2 separate regions of the Homo sapiens genome follow, and region 2 is linked to region 1. Evidence: promoter capture Hi-C in 16 types of primary human blood cells and fetal thymus (Javierre and others, 2016). All regions are on one chromosome and are shown on one strand. Each heading gives the region's core, a stretch centred on a gene start or on the middle of the fragment in contact. The rest is flanking DNA. Distances are from core to core; before and after follow the strand shown. Region 1 overlaps DCTN2 (dynactin subunit 2). Region 2 holds the start of TSFM (Ts translation elongation factor, mitochondrial).

What was found. The method cuts DNA at HindIII sites, captures the fragments that hold promoters and counts their contacts. A CHiCAGO score of 5 or more calls a contact.
Region 2: a contact is called between the fragment with the promoter of TSFM here and a fragment that was not itself captured in region 1, in 4 of 17 cell types (non-activated CD4 T cells, neutrophils, M1 macrophages and 1 more). The highest score is 6.4, in non-activated CD4 T cells.

What each region holds. Positions count from the first base shown.
Region 1 is chr12:57,529,571-57,536,639 of GRCh38, reverse strand. It overlaps DCTN2 (dynactin subunit 2), which reads left to right. Exons shown (of 14, transcript NM_001261413.2): 3 at 795-891; 4 at 1,095-1,156; 5 at 1,486-1,584; 6 at 2,188-2,348; 7 at 2,543-2,687; 8 at 3,337-3,402; 9 at 3,618-3,656; 10 at 3,830-3,907; 11 at 3,997-4,068; 12 at 4,325-4,427; 13 at 4,534-4,625; 14 at 5,865-6,589. The coding sequence ends at 5,951. MBD6 (methyl-CpG binding domain protein 6) reads right to left here. Exons shown (of 13, transcript NM_052897.4): 13 at 6,492-7,069. Among named protein-coding and RNA genes, the nearest start is that of MBD6, 10 kb to the right of the region's middle. The HindIII fragment of the contact is 8,717 bases long and covers 628-7,069 here.
Region 2 is chr12:57,777,252-57,784,100 of GRCh38, reverse strand. It overlaps TSFM (Ts translation elongation factor, mitochondrial), which reads right to left and starts at 1,314. Exons shown (of 6, transcript NM_005726.6): 1 at 1,243-1,314; 2 at 818-991. The coding sequence starts at 1,299. EEF1AKMT3 (EEF1A lysine methyltransferase 3) reads right to left here. Exons shown (of 3, transcript NM_015433.3): 3 at 1,560-3,846. The coding sequence ends at 3,455. RefSeq lists enhancers at 1,261-1,330, 684-1,553. The HindIII fragment of the contact is 6,425 bases long and covers 1-4,183 here.

The DNA.
Region 1 (7,069 bases), core at 3,737-6,236:
GCTTAAAGCATAGCAGAGGAGTCAGGGAGAAAAATCAGGTGCTGCAGCGTCTCTGAAGAGATGCTGGTTTATCTCCATTTCAGAGCTTACATGTGGCTCTTGCCCATGGATACTCTTGGCAAGCAGATATTGCCTATGTTTGTTGCTTCTAAGATGTCCCATAAAGATAATCCAGTAAGCCCTTGCCCCTTCTCCCTGTCCCTGAGTTCGCTGGCCTCATGGCAGCCTGGAAATCAGGCTTCTGGTCAGGCCCTCTGTCGGCCTTCTTTTTGTACTAAGAGCTTGTGTCTTACCTTCAACAGGTTTAAAGTCCTAATATTCACACTCAGTGTTAGTGGCCTGATTATCTGCCTTCCCTCCTCTTTCCTTCTAGCAAGGATGGGAGGTTAGCATTAAAATGGACTTGCTCAGCGGGCAAGATTTACTTTTGGGAGGGGGAGGTTAAAAGAGGTCAGGTTGGTTTCTTGCCTTGAGTGCATGGCGTGTGCCAGACAACTGGGAGGGGTAGCATGGGGGGATGGGAAGGCTTATGTACAGAGAGGGTGGGGAGGTTATGCTCCCTCTGCTCCCAGTTGAATGAGGGTGTTAATATTTATACAACTGAGGCTCCAAATTTACCAGGAAGCTTCAGTTTCCTAGGTTAAGCCTGGGTAGGCGCCTTGGAATAGAGCCACCCTTCTTTCCCCTTGGACAAGTAGGGCCCAGTCACCTAATGGTTTGGGGATTTTGTGGGGTAGAGTAAGTTCTAGAGTGGGAATGAGTGTGTCCCTGGCCTAAACTACCTGTTCTTGCAGGAGGAGCTGACAAGCACAAGTGTGGAACACATCATTGTCAATCCTAATGCTGCCTATGACAAGTTCAAGGACAAGAGAGTGGGGACAAAGGGACTTGGTGAGACTGGGCTGGAAGCTGGGTGGGGGGAAGACTGGAGGATAAGCATGAGAAGTGGTTTCCTGTCCTAAAGTCTTAGTGAGTTGTGCTTGGGGGAAGGGGTCCCTCATGGAGATATTTTATGGAAGCCCTCACAGTCACCTGAGACCATGACTGCCTTGGGCCTAGATCAGGCCCTCAGTTCCATCTTCTTTTCTTGGCAGATTTCTCAGATCGTATTGGAAAAACCAAGAGGACAGGATATGAATCTGGAGAATATGAGATGGTTTGTTGTGTGTGTGTGTGTGTTGATGGGAATGGTGTAGTGACCCTATCTAGCAGACATGTAGTAGGGAGATCAAGGGATACAGGCGGGATTCTGTTCCTCCTCTGTTCCTGAGGAAGCAGCAGGATGCAGCCAGGGAAACTCTGCCCTACTGCTGTTTGTTCTGGAGAGCCTCCAGCCCTCTAGCTGTCCTCAGTTCTTTGGTACTAGGGTGTTGTGGATTCTCAATTGGATATGATACCTTTATGACTTAGGCCCAGGGTGTGGATGAATTCTTGAGGCTCCCTGTAATGAGACATATAACATTACCCTCTGTGCCTGCTCTCTAGCTTGGAGAGGGTCTGGGAGTGAAGGAGACACCCCAGCAAAAGTACCAGCGCCTACTGCATGAGGTCCAAGAGCTGACAACTGAAGTTGAAAAAATCAAGGTAACTACAAACTCTCTTCTCCCTTCTCTGCTGTGACTTACACAGTAGAGGAAGACCTCAAGCAAGAAGAGAAAGATTCCCTGCCTGGCTGGGTGCGGTGGCTCACGCCTATAATCCTACCACTTTGGGAGGCCGAGGCAGGCGGATCACCTGAGGTCAGGAGTTCAAGACCAGCCAGGCCAACATGATGAAACCCCATCTGTACTAAAAAAATACAAAAACTTAGCCAGGTGTGGTGGCGCATACCTGTAATCCCAGCTACTCGGGAGGCTAAGGCAGGAGAATTGCTTGAACTCGGAGGCGGAGGTTGCAGTGAGCCCAGATCATGCCACTGCACTCCAACCTGGGTGACAGAGCGAGACTCCATCTCAAAAAATGAAAGAAAGAAAGATTCCTTAAGCTCCTGGATAAAGGGGCTAAGGTTTCCAGAGTTTACAAATATGCATCCATCTGTATGCAGTGCTACATACAGGTGGGCAGTCTGTCATGCTGAAAACCATCCCAGTGACCTCCAGCTACAACTACCTTTAAAGGGCTTGACCTATTTTTTTGCTTCTTGATTCATTCTTGCCATCCCCCGATTTCTACCTTTTTTCATACTAGACGACAGTGAAGGAGTCAGCCACAGAGGAGAAGCTGACCCCTGTGTTGCTGGCTAAACAGCTGGCAGCCCTGAAGCAGCAGCTGGTTGCTTCCCACCTGGAGAAGCTGCTGGGACCAGATGCTGCAATCAACCTTACCGACCCCGATGGCGCCCTGGCTAAGTGGGTACCCTACTTTGTTGAAAAATCATTGCTGACTGGGGTTGTGGATGGACTCAGCCAGCTACTGACAGGGGTGCTAAGTGGCAGAGAAGTGGCTTAGATGTTTCTTAATGCTGATTATGAGGCAAAAGTGAGGGAGAGTGACTGGCCCTTCTCCTTCCAGTCATGATATTATTACTCGGTCTCCTAACTAGGCGCCTACTACTGCAGCTGGAAGCAACAAAGAACAGCAAAGGGGGATCAGGGGGAAAAACCACTGGGACCCCCCCAGATAGCAGCCTTGTCACTTATGAACTACATTCTCGGCCTGAGCAGGACAAGTTCTCTCAAGCTGCCAAAGTAAGTGTGGATACAGTGTTGGTTGGGAAGCCAAGGGGAGATGTGACCCTAGAGATTTTCCTGCCTCTCTCCAAGGAGAGGGTGCTGGGAAGGCTTCTGATTCCTCTGATTCCTCTTGATTGATTCCTCTTTTGATTCCTGATTCGTTGTTCTCTATGTTTCTTTCTTTTTTTTTTTTTTTTGAGACGGAGTCTTGCACTGTTTCCCAGGCTGGAGTGCAGTGGCGCAATCTTGGCTCACTGCAAGCTCCGCCTCCCGGGTTCACGCCATTCTCCTGCCTCAGCCTCCTGAGTAGCTGGGACTACAGGCACCTGCCACCACGCCCGGCTCATTTTTTGTATTTTTGGTAGAGATGGGGTTTCACCATGTTAGCCAGAATGGTCTCGATCTCCTGACCTCGTGATCCGCCCGCCTCGGCCTCCCAAAGCACTGGGATTACAGGCGTGAGCCACCGCGCCCGACCTCATTCTCTATGTTTCCCTCGCCCATCTACCTTTGGTTAGGATTTTAAGATTGTGGCTAGGTATGTATTCCAGGGAAAGGAATCCCTTGGGGTGGTGAGTGGCAGGCAGAGTAGAGCAGGATCGTATTCCTCCCATTGCAGCAGCAGGGAAGCAGATGGCAAATCTCACCTCCTTCCTCCCACTAGGTCGCAGAACTTGAAAAGCGCCTGACAGAGCTGGAGACAGCTGTACGTTGTGATCAGGATGCTCAGGTCAGGTGTTCTCCTGTACATAATCTGAGCCTTAGATCCTGCAACTCTAGGCCTTAAGGTCTACAACATTCCACATAAGCCTGGGAGGAGTCATCAAAGGGCTTCAGTTACAGGGATCAGCTAGTGGGTTCCCAGCTAGAACCAGGAAAGATGGGAGAAGACGATAATCATGGAGATATAAGGACCACTCACTTCTTCCCTTCCTTTCCCACCAGAATCCCCTTTCTGCAGGTCTACAGGGAGCCTGTCTCATGGTGAGTTTGGAAGAAACTGGAGTGTTTGGATCACAGAGGGGATAGTTGGGTTTGGGTTTGCTTTGAGGATTATTTTTGAGTTTGTAGCTATATATTAATTTAGTGGAATATGGGAGGCCTCTTGCTAGTCTGCCTTTCCTCTTCATGATGCTTGTCCCAACTTCCATCCCCAGGAGACTGTAGAGCTGTTGCAAGCAAAGGTGAGCGCCCTAGACCTTGCAGTTTTGGATCAAGTGGAGGCTCGGCTACAGGTATTAAATGGAGGGAAAATTAAATTATGGATAGCTTGGGACTCTGGAAGCCCTGGATGCCCTATCAACCTTAAAATCTGTGTTTTCAGAGTGTCCTGGGAAAGGTGAACGAGATTGCCAAGCATAAAGCCTCTGTAGAAGATGCAGATACACAAAGCAAGGTCAGGAAGACACCTTCCCCATCTCCTTTCCACTCCCTCAGGTTCTCCGAGTGGCAGTGTCAAAGCATGAGAACACACTGACTCCTCAGGTCCCCATCTTCATAAGCTCTTATGAAGAGCTTATCAGCTTGGAAAGTCAGGGCACTGCTTCCCTCTGCCCACTTGATCCTTTCCCCCATTACGGTGAAATAGCAGTCTGTACATACTGACCTGGCTGCCTCAGCCATCCCCTCTGGGCCCCATTGTGTCCCTTCAGGTGCACCAGCTATATGAAACTATACAGCGCTGGAGCCCCATTGCCTCCACCCTCCCTGAGCTGGTGCAGAGACTTGTCACCATCAAGCAGCTGCACGAGCAAGGTGGGAGGCCAGCTGCCAGGAGTGCTAAGAGAAGTTGAAAAATGGGCAACTTTTGGTCCCCTCCCTTATCTTGGATTCAAGTCTCAACCATACTTTTCTTTTGTAGCCATGCAGTTTGGTCAGCTCCTGACACACTTGGATACCACCCAGCAGATGATTGCTAATTCCTTGAAGGACAATACCACCCTCTTGACCCAGGTGTGTGCCCCTTTGTTGATCTGTCCTCCTTTCTCCAGCATGTGCAAACTAGGTTCTCCAGTGTTATAGGGTTCTGCCTTAGCCTATTTTGTAGCATGGTGTTGTGGCAGGGGGTTGGTCTGGAGTCTCCATCCTGCTTTCAATGTGAAGGCCCTTTGACAACTTATTTAACCTATGAACCTCCATCTTTCCATCTGGGAAATTATACCTCCCTCAGAGTTATGTAGATGAGGTGAAATAATATGGGCAAATTGTTAGGGGCTAGTGAACATGTTTTCTTATAAAACCCCACTCTTTCCCTTTGTCGTCTCAACTTTACTCTCCCTGATAAGCACAGTACACTGGAAGGAATCCGGGCTTTGAAGTCAGAAGCAGGCCCTAATCTCGTTCTGTCGCTTCCTTTCTGGCCCTGGACAATGAGCCTCACCTAGCTCCTTCATTCTTTTAGTAATGCCTGGCACACAGCAAGTCCACAATTTCTTATTGTTTTTTATTTTTAAGACAGAGTCTCGCTCTGTTGCCCAGGCTGGAGTGCAGTGGTGTGATCTCAGCTCACTGCAGCCTCCACCTCCCGGGCTCAAGCAATTCTCATGCCTCAGCCTATTGAGTAGCTGGGATTACAGGCACGCACCACCACACCTAATTTTTTTTTTTAGTAGAGACGGGGTTTCACCATGTTGTCCAGGGTGGTCTCAAACTCCTGACCTCAAGTGATCCCACCCATCTCGGCCTCCCAAAGTGCTGAGATTACAGGCGTGAGCCACTGCACCTGGCCGCAAGTCCCAATTTCTGTTGGAGGCACTGTTCTCAGTGCTGGAAGGAGCATTAAAGTCGAGAGACCAGCATCAATCACAGGATCACTGAGATAAATGAAAAAATATATAAAGGACTTAGAATAATATCCTTTTCCTCCAGAGCAGTTTTCTAACATTTTGAACCAGTGAAACCCTCATTTCAACAAAATCTTATTTAGCTCTCATTACATAAAACAGATTTTAAAAAACTGTTCTGGCTGAAGTCAGGATGGGAATTCTCGAGTCCTACCTGCTTGGGCTCACCCCAAGCGTGGTCTATGTACTCTAAGGGTAGCTTGAAAATTGGTGCTATAAACATCCCCCCTCTGTGGCCCACAAATTGTGCTTCCATTTCTTGTCTTCTCTCTCAGAGAATTCCTTCAGGTCCTCATCCAGTTAAGCAACTGGACCTGACAAAGAGTAAAACCTCTCTACCACTTTGTAGGTGCAGACAACCATGCGTGAAAACCTGGCCACAGTTGAGGGGAACTTTGCCAGCATTGATGAACGGATGAAGAAGCTGGGAAAGTGAGCACATTTGGGAGCTGGAGAACAGGGGTTATCCCTACCCCTGTGAACTCTGTTAACAGCTTACATAGGGTTTCCCCTTTACTATAACTCTAGCATCCCCATCCCATTTGACACTGGGGGCAAGGGTTCTTCTTGCATGTGGGGTTTATACCCCTCCCCTGATGAATACAGAGTGGTAGCTAGGGGTTGGTTATCATCAGAAGGTGGTCTCCCCTCAGGCCTGGGGGATAAGGACGTGGGCCCAGCCACATGCCAACTCATGTCCAATACTGCTTTGCCTGGTGTGGGGAAGGATTGGGTCTTGTCCCCCAACACAGCTTCTGTGGCTGACTGTAATACTGTACAACTGTTTCTGACCATTAAATGCTGTTGTACTCTGTGTGGCCTCTGCTGTGTTTCCTGGGGAGGAAGCAGCACTAGGATATAGATATTCATTCGTCATAACAGGCAATCTAAGCCACTCTATACTACAAGAGATGGATTTAAATTGTAACCTGTTCTTACCAAAGAACTAAATAAAAAATGAGTACAGAGCCAGAGCCAGAGTTTCAAAATATTCTCATCTGTTAAATTAAGAGTGTCTCCCATAGAAAAGCAGTGGAGGCCCCACAGGGCAAGTACAAAACAGAATTAAAACTCCCAAGGGTCTTGTCTTTACAAAAGAAAAGGCAGGAGGCAGCCCCTGGACAGCTGGTCATGCTGGCCGCTCCGGTTGGACCACGTTGCATAATCCTCAGTCGCATCATCACAACGTCTCTGAGCGTTTTGATGGGGGGAGAAGGGGCAGTGTAGTGTGTATGGGAGGAGAGGCCCAGAGGGCTCTCTTTGCCCCCTTACCCCCTTTTTTATATCCCAGAGGAAAGTCGGGGGAACCTGGCTACACCTTGAAATGAGGCTATGTGTTTCAAACCTGGGGACGGGGTAAGAGAGGATCTGTGCTTTGAGCAACCTGAGCCAGAGGCAGAGGGGTGTTGGAGGGGTAAGGGGAGGATGCATGATGCTTATTGCTTTGTACCTTTCACTGGGAAGGAGGGCAGCAGCCAACAGTAGCTCACAGGTTTGTAAACTGAGCCTGTTGGCTTTAAGAAGGGAGGCAATGAAATCGAATTAAATATAAAA
Region 2 (6,849 bases), core at 65-2,564, 250 kb before region 1:
TGGCAATTCCATATAGCCCAGGTTGTAGTACAATATACCATCTAGGTTTGTGTAGGTACTCTATGATGTGCATAAGCCAAAATCTCCTAACGACGCCATTTCTCAGAATGTATCTTCCTATTAAGAGACGCATGACCGTACAGGCAAAAACTACACAACTCTGAAAGATTAAGATGTCTAAAGTCAGCCGGGCGCGGTGGCTCACTCCTGTAATCCCACCACTCTGGGAAGCCGAGGCGGGCGGATCACCTGAGGCCAGGAGTTCGAGACCAGCCTGGCCGACACGGCGAAACCCCATCTCTACTAAAAATACAAAAAAAAATAAAAAATAAAAAATAAAATAGCCGGGTGTCGTGGCGCACGCCTGTAATCCCAACTACTCAGGAGGCTGAGGCAGGAGAATCGCTTGAACCCGGGAGGCGGAGGTTGCAGTGAGCCAACATCGTGCCATTGCACGCCGGCCTGGGCCACAGAGCAAGACTCCGTCTGAAAAAAAAAAAAAAAGTCTAAAGTCAGACAGTGTGGGGGCCCCACAATTTGACTCCTGAACAATCTGACTCCAAAGCTCACACAAACCCTTTCAGCTCCAGGCAACAAGAAACACCGTAACAGTCTGGTTTGTTAATCCTGGGATACTCAACTGCTTTCAAATAAGACAAAGTCAAGGCCAAGGTTGTCATTTAAGCCAGATTTCCACTTAGGACTGTGCCATTATGGTCACTGAAGAGCAGTCTAACTTTATGCTCCCCAGCGTGACCGCCCCAAGAGTCTGAGGTCGAGCTCTAGTACTCCGCCCTGCACCCCTCCACACACACACCTGTTTGAGGTCCCCGCCACAAGTCTCCAGAGCTTTCTTGCAATTTACAAAGGAGTAGCCTGTTTTCCGCCGCAGCTTCATGAGGAGCTCCTTGCTGGAGGCCGAGGCAGACAGACGGGGCCCAGCATAAAATGTGTGCCTTGGCTGGGGCGACTGACGCAGAAGAGACCCAGCCTAGATGAGATAAGAAAGGGATGAGGAGCAGGAAGCAGCAAACTCCAGAGGGTGAAGGGTACACGGGCAGGGAAGCGACCTTAGGGAGCGGACAGTGTGCAAAGGGGGGTGCACCGGGGCTGGACTGGGCAGAGGCAATGCTGTCGGGGAAGGTGAGATGGAGTCAAACGAGGTTGGGAGGAAGGGAAAGGTACAGGCGCACAGGAGAGCTGCAGGGACAGCAGGTCGGTACCAGCACCAGGACTTCTCACCGGGTAGCTCCCGGTCCGCGCGACCAGAAACACGCGCAGCGACCGCAGCAGCGACATCTCTCTAGCCGCGATAAACACCCTCCGGCGGGCGCACTGGTGAGGCAACAAACCTACGGCGCGGCGGAAGGGCCAGAATTCTCCAGCGGAACGCACCAAACGAGTATGGTGCCACCTGCTGGCCGGAGGAACACAGTCCTCGCCTCTACTTGATTTCTTGAGACGACACATTTCATACGGGAATTACCCCCCACCTCCCACCCCAGGTAAAATAACAGAAACCAAGAAATAAAGTCGTCACAAAACAACAACACAAGAAATGTGGGTAACATTTTATGTTTATTTTCAATGCGCATTTATATTCATTATCCATTTATGACTCACAACAAACTTGTGTGGTTGGTGAATGGGTTCGAGAATTTGTCCAAGGTCACCTAGGAAGGCAGGGGTGGAATCCATTAAACAAAGCGAGTAAATATTTATTGAATGAGCACAATATCTGTTGAACACCTGTTGTGTGCCAGGAACTGTGTTAGGCTTCAGGGGTTTAGACAGGAGTAAACCACAGCCCTACCCTCCAAGGTAATTTAATGGTGAGAAAATGAGAATCACAAATGTCCATGCAAGACAAATTAAGGTCCCATAAGATGAACCTTATGGGTCTCAGGGAGAAAGAAATCACATTCAAGCAAGAGGCTCAGGAAAGAGGCAAAGAATAATGAAGATTTTGACAGGTGGCAATAGCCTTTCAGGCAGAGGATTATCATAAAGAGTGTGAAAGAAGTCAGAAAACTTTAGTGTGGTTTTAGAGAACAAAGAGTACATCTTTTGTAATTTGGCCAGAGGTCCAATACACGTAGCAAAGGAGTAGGAAATGCAATAGGAAGGTAATTTTGGATCACATGGACACAGACTAAGTACCAAGCAGAGGAGCTTGTTCTTGCTTCTACAGGAAGTGAAAGCTAATCAGAGCTAATTTTGGAAGATCACAAGAGTTTGCGGAATGGACTGAAGGAGAAAGCATGGAAGCAGGGAGTCCAGAGAAGGTGACTATGTGCCTAAGCAGTAAGTAAAGAGAGCCCCAACCAGAAGTACCAATGTGGGAAGAGAAAAGAGGTTAAGGCAAAACACATTAGGAACTGTGTTAGGCTTCAGGGGATTAGAGATTAGGAAGGAAGGACTGATGAAGCTAAAGAAAAATCAAAGATGAAAAGAACTTAGTACTAGGTACAGTATTCTTCTGCACACAATGATGTTCCGTGATCAAGGCTCTAACTCTGGAAAGCATGAAGAAATACAGTCCAAAGGACAGCTCTGCAGCCTTAGCTTCAGAGCTAGGAGGACTTGACCCAGTTAGAGCCATGGTTCCACTAGACTCTATCTCTAAAAAGCAGGAAATGGGTGGTTTGAGGCTTCTTCCTTCTCAGCTCCTGAGTAAAAGTTGGGTTCTTGCACAATAGATTTTTAAGGCTTAATTCTTTCTTAAAAAAAAAAAAAAATCCTAGGCTAGCACAGTGGGCCATGCCTGCAATCCCAGCACTTTGGGAGGCAAGGCGGGTGGATCACTTGAGCCCAGGAGTTTGAGACCACCCTGGGCAACATGGCGAAACCCTGTCTCTACTGAAAATACAAAAATTAGCCGGGTGTGGTGGCGCATGCCTCTAGTCCCAGCTACTTGGGGAGCTGAGGCAGGAAGATCATCTGGGCCTTCAGAGGTTGAGGCTGCAGTGAGCTGTGATCACACCACTGCACTCCAGCCTGGATGACAGAGTGAGACCCTGTCTCAAAAAAAAAGAAAAAAAGAAAAAAAAATCCCACAGAATTTTTTTAAAGTCCATTCTGTGTAAACAGCAACAGGAATGGAAGTGATCAGTGACAGTCTGTCTACAATCACTGCTCTCACATCCCATATATCTCCCTTACCCCCTAAAAATCCTGGATACCTTACCATCCTCCTTCTCTGAGAACAGGAGCCAGGAACCTCCTTGGTGTTCTAACACTAGTGCTGCCAGAACTCTGGGATTCCTTGTAAGCAGGCACCTCACTGCACCTGCCCAAGAGTATCTGGGGTAACAAAGAGGGAAGGAGGAAAGTGAGAGAGGCCAGGGAAATCCATCCTTTTTGGTCCTCATGTTTGTGGCTCTGGAAATATGGTTTTTGAGATACACAGTTCCTTCATTAGAGCAAGAGATTGAGAAGAACAGCAAGGGTGATGTCAAGCAGGTCTTGGTTCCCTGTGCCTGGCCCTATAGATGTTGACATTTTCATCCTCATCCCGCTGAGCCAGCTCCAGTTGGAAATGCTGGGGCAGGAGGTGCTGAAAGAAGCTCTCTGTCCCATGCTCCTTTCTCATCTTGGAGGCCAGATAGATGGTGCCATGGGGCCTGCACAGGTGTTGGAGGGTCCCCAGCAGCAGAGGGAAGGTGGGTTCCAGGTACACGATATCAGCCCCCAGCACCAGGTCATAGTTTGCAGGGAAGACATGATGGTCAATCCCCCAGGACAAGGCACGCACCTGGGCCTGGCCTCCAGCTGGCACATTGGCCTGGACGTTGCCCTGGATCTGTTCTAGGGCCAGGGGCAGGTCAGTGATGGTAACATCCCCCCCTGAGAGAGAGGAAGGAGGAAAAATGCAAGTCAGAGGAACCAACCAAGGGTTCTTGGCTCCTGCCTGGAAGGTCCAGAGACCTCAGAGCATAGAGGACAATGTCTTGACAGCCCAGAGCCCACACTGGCTTTTAGTTGCCTCAACCTCCATTTCACCCACTGCTATTCTCATTACTCTACATTCTACAACATCAACATTCTCTCTGAGCTAATCTTCAACCTCTCTGGCCAACACACAACAATCAGATGTCAGCAGAAGCCTGGGCAGGACTAAGCTGGAGATGGGTTCTGTACCCACCCCCACTGACACAAGCTCGCCTTAAGGGTCTGGAAAGCTTCCCAGAAAATGTGACCTCAGCTGAGCCCTAAAGGACAAGTAGGAGTTAGTCAGGTGGAGCTTTCCAAGAAGAGAACAGTGAGTACAAAGGCCTGGGAGTGAAAGAGCATGGCATATTCAGGAAAGGCTGCATCTTAGAGGATGTGGAAGGGGGAGAAAAGTGTCAAGACATGAGACAAAGGGAAAGTGATTATGACATGCTAAGAAGATTCAGGTTCGATACTGAGGGCAGTAAGCTTTAAGGGCAGAAACGGGTGAAGATGGTCAGATTAGCATCTCAGAAACCTTCATTCATGCAGTAGATATAATTTGGAGAACCTTCTAAGTGCTGGGTATATAAGGTGAGCAAGACAAAAACACAGCTTTCTTTGTTTCATTCTAGAGGTAGAGACACACTAGGTACTGCATCATAATCATGATGACTATGATAGAAAGAGAAGCAAGAAGTACTAGGAATCCATTCATTCATTCATATTTATTATGTGCCTATATGCCAAGTGCTGAGAACATAATGATGAACTAAGAAGATAAGAATCCCCCCTCACAGAGCTTATGGTCCAGTGGCAAGAAACAGATGATAACAACAAACAAAATAAATAAAATAAAATACACTGTACATCAGATGGTAATATATGCCATGGTGAAGCCCCAAGCAGGGAAGGGGGATAAGAATTGCTTGAGGGATGGGGAGAAATGCAAGTTAGAGGGACCAACCAAGGGTTCTCGGCTCCTACCTGGAAGGTCCAGAGACCCCAGGGCATAGAGGACAAAGTCTTGGCAGCCTGAATGTAATTTTAAATTGAGTGGCTGGAGAATGAAATTTTAAATTGAGTGGTCAGACCAGCCTGACCAAAATGGTGAAACCCCATATCTACTAAAAATACAAAAAAATTAGCTGGGTGTGGTGGCGGGCGCCTGTAATGCCAGCTACTAGGGAGGCTGAGGCAGGAGAATCGCTTGAACCTGGGAGGCGAAGGTTGCAATGAGCCGAGATTGTGCCATTGCACTCCGACCTGGGCAACAAGTGCAAGACTCTGTCTCAAAAAAAAAAGAATGGCACACGCTGGCATGCTTTAGGAGGAGCATGCTGGCTGCTATGATGAGAAGAGTACAGGAGGGCAAGGTCAGAAGCTAGGAGACCAGTTAGGAGGTGATGGCAATGACTCAGGTGAGAGATGATGATGGTTTAAACCAGGGCAGTAGCAATGGCTAAGAAATGGTCAGATCCTGAATATATTTTGAAGGTAGAGTCAACAGGATTTGCCAATAGATTGGATATAAAATATGAGAGAGAGAGAAAAGCTTGGGATGGGCCAGGCACAGTGGCTCACGCCTGTAATCCCTTTGGATTACACTTTGGGAGGCCAATGCGGGATGACTGCTTGAGTCCAGGAGTTTGAGACCAGTCTGGGCAACATAGCAAAACCTCGTCTCTATAAAAAATACAAAAATTAGCTGGGTGTGGTGGCACATCCTGTAGTCCCAGCTACTCGGGAGGCTGAGGTCAGAGGATTGCTTGAGCCTCGGGAGGTTGAAAGTTCAGGGCTTTAGTGAGCCATGATTGTGCTACTTTCACTCCAGCCTGGGCAACAGAGTGAGAACCTGTCTCAAAAAAAAAAAAAAAGCTCAGGATGGTTTCTGGGTGTTTGGCCTGACCAACTAGAAGACCAAATTGCCACTCATTTAGATGAGAAAGGTTGCAGGAGGCGCAATTTGGACAGGAAGATCATGAGTTCATTTTCTGAGCACGTTAAGTTTGACATGGACTTCTATATCACATCAGACAACCACATGAAGATACTGAGTAGGCACTAGGTTATGCAAGCAAGTCTGGAGATAGAAATGGGATAGTCTTAGAGTCATGATCACCAACGGGGCATTTTTTTTTTTTTTTTTTTGAGATGGAGTCTCGCACTTGTTGCCCAGGCTGGAGGGCAATGGCATGATCTCGGCTCATTGCAACCTCCGCCTCCCAGGTTTAAGCAATTCTCCTGCCTCAGCCTCGCAAGTAGCTGGGATTACAGGCGCCTGCCACCACGCCCGGCTAATTTTGTATTTTTAGTAGAGATGGGGTTTCACCATGTTGGTCAGGCTAGTCTCAAACTCCTGACCTCAGGTGATCCACCCACCTTAGCCTCCCAAAGTGCTCGGATTACAGGCGTAAGCCACCGCGTCCGGCTTCAACAGGACATTTAAAGGCATGAGGTGATGGGCTGCTCAGGAGTGAGGTAGACAAGAAAAGGAGGGGATCAAAGGACTGCCCCTGAGCCCTGGGGCACTCACATTTTCAGTTGTGAAGATGAAAAAGAACCAACAAGAGAGCATGGAAAAGGAGTTCCTGCCGGTAAGCAGAAACCAGAAGTGTGGTCCCCTGGAAACCAAAGGAATTGTTCCAAGGAGGAGGGAGTGTCAGCATCAAATGCAAAGTTATCAAAGGTAGGCTGATAACTGACTCCTGCGTTTAACAACCTGGAGTTGGAAATGAAGCTCACGACCTTAACTAGAACAATTGGATTGAAGGAAAGAATAGGAGGAGAGGAACTAGACACTGAATATTAACTCTTTTGAGTTTTGTTTTAAAGTGGAGCATAGAAATGGAGTGATAGCTGGAGGGAGATGTAGGATCAAGAGTTTTTTTCTGAAATAAGAGAAATCATAGCATATTT